Linked DNA regions of Homo sapiens: regions 2 and 3 are each linked to region 1. The links are contacts of gene promoters, found by promoter capture Hi-C in blood cells and fetal thymus (Javierre and others, 2016). All regions are on one chromosome and are shown on one strand. Each heading gives the region's core, a stretch centred on a gene start or on the middle of the fragment in contact. The rest is flanking DNA. Distances are from core to core; before and after follow the strand shown. Region 1 holds the start of NCEH1 (neutral cholesterol ester hydrolase 1). Region 2 overlaps FNDC3B (fibronectin type III domain containing 3B). Region 3 overlaps FNDC3B (fibronectin type III domain containing 3B).

The links. Contacts are between HindIII fragments. The CHiCAGO score rates a contact against its expected background, and 5 or more counts as called.
Region 2: a contact is called between a fragment that was not itself captured here and the fragment with the promoter of NCEH1 in region 1, in 1 of 17 cell types (monocytes). The highest score is 5.7, in monocytes.
Region 3: a fragment that was not itself captured here is called in contact with the fragment with the promoter of NCEH1 in region 1 in 1 of 17 cell types (monocytes); the score reaches 5.1 in monocytes.

Annotation. Positions count from the first base shown.
Region 1 is chr3:172,709,094-172,713,466 of GRCh38, forward strand. NCEH1 (neutral cholesterol ester hydrolase 1) reads right to left here and starts at 1,974. Exons shown (of 5, transcript NM_020792.6): 1 at 1,754-1,974. The coding sequence starts at 1,891. RefSeq lists enhancers at 1,426-2,625, 1,755-2,024, 1,946-2,240, 2,285-2,424. The HindIII fragment of the contact is 17,687 bases long and covers 93-4,373 here.
Region 2 is chr3:172,342,980-172,347,352 of GRCh38, forward strand. FNDC3B (fibronectin type III domain containing 3B) reads left to right here. Exons shown (of 26, transcript NM_022763.4): 18 at 32-137; 19 at 1,107-1,279; 20 at 3,348-3,461; 21 at 4,233-4,373. Among named protein-coding and RNA genes, the nearest start is that of GHSR, 100 kb to the right of the region's middle. The HindIII fragment of the contact is 3,052 bases long and covers 219-3,270 here.
Region 3 is chr3:172,379,972-172,384,344 of GRCh38, forward strand. FNDC3B (fibronectin type III domain containing 3B) reads left to right here. Exons shown (of 26, transcript NM_022763.4): 25 at 995-1,122. Among named protein-coding and RNA genes, the nearest start is that of GHSR, 66 kb to the right of the region's middle. The HindIII fragment of the contact is 8,032 bases long and covers 1-4,373 here.

The DNA.
Region 1 (4,373 bases), core at 724-3,223:
ATCATTCCCAAGCACCACCTGAGGGTATACTCTGTGGAGGACCTTACACAGCCTTGTCCTTAATGGGCTGGCAAGCCTAGCTGGGAAAGAAAAGCTTTTCTCCAAACCTAGCTTGTCCGAGATTAACTTATGATGGAGAAGACTTCTTTGGTGACCTGAAAACTAAGAATAATCTCTGCAGCCAACACAGCAGTTTGATCTTTTTCCTGTTTTCCTCTGTTTAAGTTATTGTAGTAGACCATTAACCCACCCAGGTAAACATCACTGTTCCTCAATCTTTGAAGGGTATTACTTTCAAATTACATAATTTCATGGGGGAGGAGAGGGAATGCAAGGCTTCCTACAACAAGACTGACTTTCTTGACACCAGTGCTAAAGAAGGGGATGATCATTTTCACCATGTCAACATTATAGGAAGCAAGAGGAAAAGAAGGGGGGCAGGGGTCTATAGCTTCATAGACCTTTCCTAAGAGACAAAAGGGGCTTTGGAGGTGAGAATGTGGCTGAATTCAGGAAAAGCAAATCCACGCTAGGAATGTGCTGCAATATCCTAGTAAGGGGACTTTTCATAGGATAAAGCCCCACAGATTATGTAATCCTACACATAATGAGTGGACAGGGAACAGGAACATAAACCCTCTGGGAAAATCATGACTTTTTTAAAATCAGCTTTCTCAGGTTGAAATGATTTTTTTTCTCTTTCTCTAGTTGTCATTTCTGAAAGAAAGAGTTTATAAAAATATTCTGAGATTAAAGCCCAAGGTTGTGGGGAGGGAGGAGGCTTGGTTTTGGAGAAGGTTAGAGTTTAGATAGAGCAGGCTGCTCAGAAATACTGTCCAATCAGAGGGCTCAGCCTTGGCTGCAGACTGTAGTTTAGATTTTAGATTCTCTGACACTAAAAATAATGCCTCTTACCATGGAATAAACCAGAGACAGTTATATTTTCCTGTGTATGGAAGGAATGAACACACGCCCATGATACAGTGGAGAGAAATGTTACCCTCCCAGGTTAAGGCAGGTAACCTCGCTCAGGAAAAGGTTATCTGACAGCCAAGGACATAAAATAAATGCTGCAGGGCAAGCAGAAAACATGCATCATGCAAACCAGGGCTGCCGCCTCCTCACCTCCTTTCAGCCAGCCCAGCCTCCCAGTCCTCTTTCTTGGGCTGAGCTGAGATCTGCCTCGGGTGAAACGAGAGATCCCTATGGTTCCTCAAGTGCTTGGATGGAGAGCCCTGCCTGCTGTCTCCGGGAACGGAGCGCTCCACAGCCTGGGGACATTGCGAGACTGCCCTTGCCTGCTTCTGCTTCTAAGGTGGCTGCATTCCCAGGAACCAGAGCCTGCTTTTCCCGAGCTCTCCTAAAAATATTTATCCTCTGCCGGTCCCTATGGGAGAACGACAGTGTGAAGAAGGGTGGTTTATAAACTGCTTAAGGATTTGCCTTTTGACGTTGCAAACCAAGGAAGAGGAAGATATTTAGGACAGACGAAGGTTTAAACAGTTGTCAAATTCTATTCAAGCACTTCTTCCCCGTCACAAACGCAGACGGGGAAATGCAGATCTAGCCCGCTGCTAGCAAGGAGGCGAATGCGATACCCTGAAAATTCCCGACTGGACCACCTCAAAAAGCGACAGCCTCAATGCATTAGGAAAAACCTGCGTTTTCGTGGAACCCGGCGGAGGAATTTTGTATCCCCTTCAAATATTGCGTAAGAGGAGGAAGAGAGAAGCAGCGCTGGGCTGCACCTCACCACTTGCTGTGCACCCCGGAAAGTGGCGTCCAGCAGCATCAGCTTCCAGGGGTCGGACACGGAGCCAGGCAGCGGGATGTAGACGTAATAGGCGGCCAGCGCCACCAGGGCGGTGAGCAGGACACAGGACGACCTCATCTTGCCCTGGCTCGGCTCGCCAGCGGGCTGGCAAAGAGGAAAGGGCGATACCACCCGGAGACCTCCGGCAACTTTCTGCCCGCGGCAGCTGCTCATTCACGCGTTTCTTATAAGCCCAGGAGCCAATCAGAGGCTGCGTCGGGAGGAAGTTGGAGCGCGGACATGCCCCCTCTACGGTGTCCTTGCAAAGTGTGGCAGTCACTACAGGTTTGAGGAAGGCTCTGTCGCTGCTCTGGCCGTAGGCACAGCGGACTCTGGAGGACACTGGTTTGTACTGCATGCGTGTGAGGATGGCTTTCCTCCTGGAAGGTCTCAAACGGAAAATAGTTTCAGTGTGACGAGTCTCTGGACAAAGCAAGTGGGTCATTCTGACTCAGAGTACTGAGAAAGGATATAAAAATTCTGTTTTCTGGAGCCAGACTTGGAGTGGTTTGTAAGTTCTAGCTGATATATGGCAAAAGAAGATATTAAATTCTTCTGGCTCAAGCAATGAAAGGCCAGTAGTACATCTAGCACCCAAGTCTTGGTTTCTAAATCCTATGCTCCAATAAGAGGAACCACGGCTTTTTGACACAACCTCTGGAGAAAAGGCTGATACCAGGGCTGGGGCTGTAAAGTACAAGATGAACCTGTTGTGCCAGAGATGCGGAAGTGCTCAAAAAATGATAGGAACTGGTCAAAGGTCCACAGCTGCCAGCTTGAAGGGTCTCCCAGTGGCTGAAGCTGGGATAATTTTACCATCAATATAAATCATCATAATGGATAACCCATTGATTAAAATAAAACTCAACAATCTATATTAATATAAATAAATGAGGAAAGAAGAAAGGCTTTTCTTAAAATAGAATGCCAGCTAGTATCCATAGAAAATCATAAATGAATGCTAAAACTAGAGGGTAAAAATTTGACACAGAATTTTGGTCCTTCATCAGAAGATCTCTCCACAAATTACTACAAAGGGAAAAAATAATAACTTTTTATTGGAGAAACGTGTGGATATCACCTGAAAAATTCTTTCAGTGAGTCAATGGTAGCAGAAATACACTTAAACCCAGATTTCTTGTTAATGATTGGGGGTGAGGAGGGGTGGGTGAGTACTGAATGGGAGAGAGAAAACTTCACTAGCAAAATTTCAACCAGAAATCCAGAAGGAAAACAGTTAGAAGACCTGTTTCAAGAAAGTGGTAGGATGACAACTCCAAACTTATTGATGAAGGTCTTAAAACACCTAGTATATATAATTATGCATCTTAAGATGGTAATTTTAATTTAATCAAATTAATAGAAGTGAAATAACCATAAATTTGGTTCTGATAATGAGATTTTTAGGAAACAGTTGGCTTCTTCTTCAACATTGAAGGAAAACTGATAAGAAGGGCACACTTTCATGGTATTTCAAGCAAGTTCTCTCTCTCTTTTTTTTTTGTTTTGTTTGTTTTTGGTGTTTGTTTTTTGTTTTTTTTGAGACGGAGTCTTGCTCTTTTCGCCCAGGCTAGAGTGCAATGGCACGATCTCAGCTCACTGCAACCTCCACCTCCTGGGTTCAAGCAATTCTCTTGCCTCAGCCTCCTCAGTAGGTGGGATTACAGGTGCCCACCACCACACCTGGCTGATTTTTGTATTTTTAGTAGAGATGGGGTTTCACCATGCTGGCCAGGCTGGTCTCAAACTCCTGACCTTGTGATCTGCCCACCTCAGTCTCCCAAAGTGCTGGGATTACAGGCATGATCCACGGCACCTGGCCTCTCTCTCTCTCTCTCTCTCTCTCTCTCTCTCTCTCTCTCTCTCTCTCTGTCTTTTAAGTTACTGGTTAAACTCATAACTCTAAACAGATAGGAATGTTTATGTTTATGTTTGTGTGTGAGTATATGTGTAGAAAATTAGAAGCTATTCTTTTTTTTTTTGAGATAGAGCATCGCTCTTGTCACCCAGGCTGGAGTGCAATGGTGCAATCTTGGCTCACTGCAACCTCTGCCTCCCGGGTTCAAGCCATTCTGCCTCAGCCTCCCGAGTAGCTGGGATTTCAGATGCCTGCCACTAAGCCCAGCTAATTTTGTATTTTTAGTAGAGACAGGGTTTCACCGTGTTGGCCAGGCTGGTCTTGAACTCCTGACTTCAGGTGATCCACCTGCCTCAGCCTCCAAAAGTGCTGGGATTACAGGTGTGAACTACCACGCCCAGCCAGAAGCTAATCTTTATGGGTGATTAGGAATAATCCTGGAGATATAAACCAAGCTGACTACTGGATTTAGTTACATTACTTGCTTTCAGGAAATCTGCAAAATAAATCCAAGTTTTACCTTGTCGACAATACTTTTCTCTTAGATTTTGACTATATGTTCATAAAAACATAGATCTTAGAGCTAATGACAAAACCAAACCGAACCAAAAACAAACAAGCAAACAAATCCAAAAATCCCCACACCTAACTCAGCCTTCCCTCTTCCACCAGCAGTTAACACACTCGGTGTTATAGATGAGC
Region 2 (4,373 bases), core at 495-2,994, 370 kb before region 1:
GAGATGGTTCTCTCTGGTGTTTCTCCTGCAGTGTTCTGAAAGTCTCCCTGTTCGCACACTAAGCATTGCACCAGGTCAATGTCGACCACCGAGGGTTTTGGGTAGACCAAAGCACAAAGAAGTCCACTTAGAGTGGGGTGAGTGAACTAACCTTCACATTGACATTGACAATTTGGACAATTGGAGATGAAGACTTATGCTTTGTAGTTAAGTTTCAAAGCTTTCTTCTAAAGACCATATACGTTTTTGTCTGTTGAGGATGTCCATATTCTTCTTGAAGTATGTTGACCCAGGTTTTTTATGTGTGTCATTCCCCCCATCCACACCCGCAACACTGTCCCTCACCTTCCTCTTCCTGATGGTGCCACACACATGGTTTATCCCCCGCACTTCAGGGGACACATTTCTAGGGAGTATTTCAAGAACAGCCAGTCTTTTTCAGAAAGTTTTCAACTTTATTCATGGGAAAAAAATTTTGTGCTCCATTTAGAATTTAAACCAAAGAATGGTTTATAAGATCACATGGAATTCTTTCTCGTCTTTGTTTGCAACCACCTCTGCTGCATTGTCCTGTGTGGGTCCTGATGTTTTTACAGCATTGATTTAAGCTGTATTAGCGTTTCCTGTTGTGTCCAGCAGTTTACAACATGTATAATTACAAGTACAAATGTACAGAACTCTCTAGCAGACTATTTTTTCCTACCACTTATGTCTAAAGTATAATAAATTGTGCCAATTTGGGGTCCTGTATTTTGATTTAGCATGACCTTTGGTTTCCAATTAAAGAGATTTTTCTTCCCTCTTTTTCTTCCATTTACCTAGCATTAGAATATGAAGAAATATATCTAATGTTCCTATAATTTTGGGATTATTTTATCAATGTAATTAAATAAACTTCAGTGGACCCGCTTTGGAGAGTATGGATAACATCATTCAGAAACTTTTATTTTTATATCTCTTTTTTGGTGGGCATGGATTCTTTTGTAAGGGAGATACTGAGGCCGGCCACCTATGTGATATTTTGCTCAACTTGTGTGAAATCTGGTGCACTTTGGTCAACTGGAAGCACAAAGTGTTCTAAGATGAAAAAAATTCTTCATTCCCAGATGTTCCTGCATCGGAAAGTGGCTGTGAGGTCTCAGAGTACAGCGTGGAGATGACGGAGCCCGAAGACGTAGCCTCGGAAGTGTACCATGGCCCAGAGCTGGAGTGCACCGTCGGCAACCTGCTTCCTGGAACCGTGTATCGCTTCCGGGTGAGGGCTCTGAATGATGGAGGGGTGAGTATAAGCCCATACACCATAACCAGAATCAGAATGCATAATCAGAACCCAAAGTGCTAGCACTTCTGTCTCTAGCCTCCTGAAATTTTTGACAGTCTTGATGCAACCTTGACAACCATTAATGCAGTGTCTGTAAATCTTAATTCTGAGTTGATATTGTTGTGATTTCATATAGACCCAGCATTAGAAGTTTTCTGTTTCTTTTGTCCTCATATCATTCTATGAAGACAGCACTCAAGGTTAATAAGGATATCACCCTGTAGATATTTTCGACAGTTTTTGGAAAATTTCCTATTCTATTGACTTTATCAGTTCAGGGAAATTAGGATTAGATAATAGTTCTAATAAAAGTTTTATACTGTCTTGTCTAAATGAACCAGCAACATCTTAGGTCAGTTTTTACAACTAGAGAAGGGTAGTGGCCAGGGACACCAGCTTGTTTTTGTTTTGTTTCACGTGAAAACTACAGGACTCTCTCCTTCTATTGCTCCATTTGGAGTTGTCAAGTTGAGCTATCAAAAATTGAGAATATATATGTCTATGTTATATCCATAAAGGTTGTTGTCCTTTTTTTCTTTGAAATTGCCAAATGATGTGGATTTAGGGGGAGATGAATAATGAGCAGTGGGAGTCCCAGTAACTGTGAGGCTTTTGGGTGGGCTCAGAGATTGATGAAGCATAAAAGGGCAGAAGCGTGTGGGTAAAGCCAGCTAAATGCCCCGTCCAAAGTGCCAGTGGTTTGTGTAGATGGGCTCCATGCAAATAAATAGAATTAATTAATTGATGATTTTTTAAAAAAATAAGACAGCCCAACTTGCAGTGACTTTTTGTTTTAAGTGAAAGCAAGTTTATTAAGAAAGTAAAGGAATAAAAGAAGGGCTATTCCTTAGGCAGAGTGCCCAAAACTGGATTTCTCCTAATTCTCCAATAGAAAAGAATTTCAGACACAACAATGATACTTAAGTGAAAACAAAAAAGTCTGAACATTAACGCCTATGTACCTGAACTTATAATCATGTAAGCGAAAAGAAGATGGATAGTGATGAGCACACTGTTGTGTCTACCCCATTCTCTCATCAACTTTTCAGTTACTATCTGCCACAACAAAGATAAATGTGCAACTGGGCTGGTGTGAGCTGTACTTTTCTCAGCCCTTTCACTGATTTATCCTATAAAGAAACTATCTTCAGCTTGGGTTTATTCCTGTTGTATTAGAAATTAACCATATATATCGCTGTAGTCACCTTCTGAGGTCCATTTCAGAGAGCTTCCCCAACTCCCCAGCATCTTTGCATGTTATGTTGAGAGGTGGTTTTTTGTTTCCCCCCTCCCCGCCGTCTTTTTTCTCTCATTTTGACAAGGACAGTCATATATTTTGTTAGCCTGGCAAGTTTTTACTCTGCTCCAAACCTTTGAAGTATCAAATATGCCACCATTAAAATGGGTGGTTCAGGTGGCTGTGACTCTCTCAAAGTGTGGTAAGTCTCTAGCAATTCCTGGCTCTGAGCAGTGTGGTCACTGATGGTAACATCAGGATTGCCGTGGATACCCTTGAATAGGTGAGGTGATGGGAACACACTGAGAAAACATTACAGAAGCATTTATTTTCAAAATGGAAAATACCGGTAACTAGAAGAAATACCTAGAATTTGATCACCAACAATTCCAAGTATATTTTTATTCATTAAAAATTAAACTGCAGTGGGCATCTGACTTAGTTTTCTTGGATGTCCTCTGAGAAATATGAAAGCAGATTGCCCTGTTTTGTCAAAAATCAGCATATTTTTATTTCATGTCCCAAGAAAGGGAAAATATTTTGTCAACCAACTAATTATTTTACAATTAAAAAAATGACAGACATCTACTACTCAGGGACTGTATATAGGAGAAAAACTTACACACATTGAATTGAAAGTGAAAATCATTGGGTAATATTTGTTAATTAGTTGTGTTGATGATGATGTTAGCCTAGCTTTTATTTGGTTATAAGCTTTTGTATGCACACACATTCACAAACACATACACGCATATATACATACGTGTGTGTGCGTGTGTTTTCTTTCAGTATGGTCCCTATTCTGATGTCTCAGAAATTACCACTGCTGCAGGGCCTCCTGGACAATGCAAAGCACCTTGTATTTCTTGTACACCTGATGGATGTGTCTTAGTGGGTTGGGAGGTAAGTCAGGCATATTCTGCATCAACTTCTGTTTCTTCTACTTTACTCCCAAATACAAATACCAATTATAAGGAAGCTGCAAATCCAAAATGCACATATAGATGATTTTTTTTTTTTTTTTGCTCTGTGTACTATAGTAATCACCCTTGGCACTTGCCACTTGCTTATATTATTTAGGGTTGTGGAAGTTTTACTGTAGTCAAAACTGAGAGGAAATGGTTTCTCATGCCTTTCTTTTTGTAAAAAATTTTATTTTATTTTACTTATTTTATTTTTTTGTGTGACAGAGTTTCAATCTTGTCACCCAGGCTGGAGGGCAGTGGCACAATCTCGGCTCACTGCAACCTCTGCCTCCCTGGTTCAAGTGATTCTCCTGCCTCAGCCTCCTGAGTAGCTGGGATTACAGGTGCCCACCACCATGCCTGGCTAGTTTTTGTACTTTTAGTAGAGATAGGGTTTCACTGTGTTGGCCAGGCTGGTCTCGAACTCCTTATCTTAGGCAATCCACCCACCTCAGCCTCCCAAAGTGCTGGGATTACAGGCATGAGCCGCCGCACCTGGCCCTATTTTATTTTTAAATTTCTAAATCTCAAAAAAAATTTTGTGGGTACATAGTAGGTATATATATTTGTGATCGTGCCTTTCTTTTATATGTATTTGAAATATTCTGGGGCATGTTGCTCTCTTTCCCATTTTAGTTAATTGAATACAAGCACAGTAGGATTCTCTTCTCAGTGGCATTATTAACTACTTCCATTTCTGCCTTTCCAGAGTCCTGATAGTTCTGGTGCTGACATCTCAGAGTACAGGTTGGAATGGGGAGAAGATGAAGAATCCTTAGAACTCATTTATCATGGGACAGACACCCGTTTTGAAATAAGAGACCTGTTGCCTGCTGCACAGTATTGCTGT
Region 3 (4,373 bases), core at 907-3,406, 330 kb before region 1:
GCTGGAGGACAGTTTAATCTGATAGGCTTCCTTATTTAGTTTTTTCATAAAATGCTTGGAATTTTGGCCTAGTATTTCCAGCGTAGGCTCCTTTTCTTCTTCTTCTTTTTTTTTAAGGAAAGCATTATTTTTCTGAAACAATAACACACAGAATTGCAAGCAGAAACAACTGTCTCTAAAGAATTAGTTGCATGTAATTAGGGATTAAAGTATAAGGGGGTTCAGACAGGAGATATACATTCTAGTTACAAAATAGGAAAATGTCCTATTGAATCAAGCTGTAGAGATAGAAGTTATGAAAATATTTTTTAAATCTAGAATATTTTAAGTGCCTTACTGCAGACTAATATAATTTAGCTTTAAATGAGAATGAGGAGTTCAGGAGGTGAAAAATAAAATATATATAAATATAATTTAATTTTTAAAGGCTTTCAATGCTGCCCATTCCCCAGGACTGTTCTCACATGTCACCTGCTCCTCAAACTTTCCTTAGACCCTCACCCAGGTATGCTCTTTTCCTCCTCTGGAAATTCCCAACGTTTTGTTTGTACCTCTCATTTTTATTCCCTGATGTTTCTTTTTGTATGCGTCTCATACCTTGCTCTCCCCTTCCTTCAACTAACTCTTAAGTTTCTTGAAAACAGGGTTTACCTTGCCTGTTTTTGCATCTTCCAGAATACCTAGGACAGGGCCTAAGCCATAGAGGATACTCAATTGCCATAGGAGAAAAAAAGATGTGATCCACATCAAGCTGTTATTAATGGGATAATGGGCAAAGGATTTTTCATCAATGGCTTTTTAGTCATGGAGTAACTTCTCTGTGCCTAAAGGGCACCCTGCTGGTTTTATGAGAGGCTGGGCAAATCAGCTCCTCTCTCAGGGCAAACACAGGCACAATCTTGCTCTCTCTGGGTTCTCACTAATAGTGCTAAAGTGTTGACTATTAACATGATACTTTGAATTTTGAGCTTGGATGTGTGGATTTGTATTTCAGCACCTCGAGTAACACAGTTAGAAGGAAATTCATGTGAAATTTTATGGGAGACGGTACCATCAATGAAAGGTGACCCTGTTAACTACATTCTGCAGGTATTGGTTGGAAGAGAATCTGAGTACAAACAGGTAAGAACCAGTGTGCATGGCACATGTGCAACTGAGTATGGCTGGCTCCATGCCTCTGCTTATTGCTATGAATGACTCAGTGAACTATGTTTTTCTTAAAATCAGTGATAGAAACTGCCTAACTTGTACTTATTGTATAATTCTTCAGAGTGGGTGAAACCTAGTTTACATTTCATTTTATATATGGTGGTATTCATCTTCAATTTTCAGTTCTCAAGCATATGTTTGTCTTAAAGAGTTGTAAATCGTTTATTTGTATTTGACATTGATGGTGAGGTTTGCAAGCATCAAAGTCAGTATGTAATTGAAAACTAAAGTGCCTGTGATTTTACTATAGAGGGAAGTAGTCTCTTTTTTTGTTGTTGTTAGTATTGATCTTTTTTTTTTTTCATTATACTTTAAGTTCTGGGATACATGTGTAGAATATGCAGGTTTGTTACATAGGTATACATGTGCCATGGTAGTTTGCTGCGCCCATCAACCTGTCATCTACATTAGGTATTTCTCCTAATGCTATCCCTCCCCTTGCCCCCCACCCCCTGACAGGCCCCAGTGTGTGATGTTCCCCTCCCTGTGCCCATATGTTCTCATTGTTCAACTCCCACTTATGAGTGAGAACCTGCGGTGTTTGGTTTTCTGTTCCTGTGTCAGTTTGCCAAGAATGATGGTTTCCACTTCATCCATGTCCCTACAAAGGACATGAACTCGTTCTTTTTTTATGGCTGCACAGTATTCCATGGTGTATATGTGCCACATTTTCTTTATCCAGTCTAACATTGATGGGCATTTGGGTTGGTTCCAAGTCTTTGCTATTGTGAATAGTGCTGCAATAAACATACATGTGCATGTGTCTTTATAGTAGAAGGATTTATAATCCTTTGGGTATATACCCAGTAATGGGATTGCTGGGTCAAATGGTATTTCTGGTTCTAGATCCTTGAGGAATTGCCACACTGTCTTCCACAATGGTTGAACTAATTTACACTCCCACCAACGGTGTAAAAGTGTTCCTATTTCCCCACATCCTCTCCAGCATCTGTTGTTTCCTGACTTTTTAAATGATTGCCATTCTAACTGGCGTGAAATGGTATCTCATAGTAGTTTTGATTTGCATTTCTCTAATGACAAGTGATGACGAGCTTTTTTTCATATGTTTGTTGGCCACATAAATATCTTCTTTTGAGAAGTGTCTGTTCATATCCTTCACCCACTTTTTGATGGGGTGGTTTTTTTCTTGTAAATTTGTGTAAGGTCCTTGTAGGTGCTAGATATTAGGCCTTTGTCAGATGGATAGATTGCAAAATTTTTCTCCCATTCTGAAGGTTGCCTGTTCACTCTGATGATAGTTTCTTTGCTGTGCAGAAGCTCTTTAGTTTAATTAGATCCCATTTGTCAATTTTGGCTTTTGTTGCCATTGCTTTTGGTGTTTTAGTCATGAAGTCTTTACCCATGCCTATGTTCCGAATGGTATTGCCTAGGTTTTCTTCTACGGTTTTTATGATTTTAGGTCTTACATTTAAATCTTTAATCCATCTTGAGTTAATTTTTGTATAAGGGGTAAGGAAGGGGTCCACTTTCAGTTTTCTGTATATAGCTAGCCAGTTTTTCCAACACCATTTGTTAAATAGGGAATCCTTTCCCCATTTCTTGTTTTTGTCAGGTTTGTCAAAGATCAGATGGTTGTAGATGTGTGGTGGTATTTCTGAGCCCTCTGTTATGTTCCATTGGTCTATATATCTGTTTTGGTACCAGTACTATGCTGTTTTGGTTACTGTAGCCTTGTAATATAGTTTGAAGTCAGGTAGCATGATGCCTCCAGCTTTGTTCTTTTTGCTTAGGATTGTCTTGGCTATACACACTCTTTTTTGGTTCCATATGAAACTTAAAGTAGGTTTTTTCTGATTCTGTGAAGAAAGTCAGTGGTAACTTGATGGGAATAGCATTGAATCTATAAATTACTTTGGGCAGTATGGCCATTTTCACGATATTGATTCTTCCTATCCACGAGCATGGAATGTTTTTCCATTTGTTTGTGTCCTCTCTTATTTTCTTGAGCAGTGGTTTGTAGTTCTCCCTGAAGAGGTCCTTCACATCCCTTGTAAGTTGTATTCCTAGGTATTTTATTCTCTTTGTAGCAATTGTGAATGGGAGTTTGCTCATGATTTGGCTGTTTGTCTATTATTGGTGTATAGGAATGCTTGTGATTTTTGCACATTGATTTGGTATCCTGAGATTTTGCTGAAGTTGCTTATCAACTTAAGGAGTTTTTGGACTGAGATGATGGGGTTTTCTAAACGTACAATCATGTCATCGAGGAGAAGTAGTCTTAACCTAACTACTGAAGCCTACATTCTGTCTACCTTTTTTGTAGAACTAATGGAAGGTTAAGGGAGATGATGCATAGGCCCTGGAGGCCTGTGATTCAGAAGCTCTAAGTCATGCATGTCACCTTTTAATGTCAAAGGAATCACCCGGGAATCTGTTAAAATGCAGATTCTGACCTGGTAGGTCTTGGGTGGAGATTCACCCTCCCAGGTGACACTGACATTGCTGGTCCATGGACCATAATTTGAGTAGCAAGGCTCTGTAAATCACATAATAAACCCACATAAGAGAGAATGCATTTGGAATATAGCCAGATAAGAAATTAGTTTTATCATGTTTCATAGCCCTTGTTGATTCTTAATTCTTCCAAAGAAGAATCAGATCAATGACTCTGAAGGATTTAGATACTCTATAGGCTTTCATAATAGTCCCTAGAACTTGTTTTTGTCAAATCAGGATATAATATTATGTATTCCATTAGGAAAGCTGAGGTGCATTCTTCGTCAGCACTTTTAATAGGAGCGTTCATTTATATCAAACATAAAGATGAAAATAAATGCCACCTGTTCTCTGAAACAGTAGCATAATTTATAAAAAAAACTTTGTTCAGTTCCAAATACACAAGTAGAAAATCATTTGATTCAGAGTTTCTGTTAAATTTCTCATTGGTGTTTGCTATATGATAATAAAGAATATTGGCAAATAAAATGTTTTTAAAAAAAGGTAATTTTGGACATTTTGCTGTACTTTGTTAATATGATGTATCAGATAAAAGATTTAATTGTTTTAAACAAAAAACTTTATCCTAAATATGACATCTACCAGTGTCGATTAACATCAGCGGATGATGTCACCAAAGTTTCCATCATTCCTCTTAAATAAGAACAAAGACACTATGGTTCCTTTTATTTTTGAATCTCATTTTA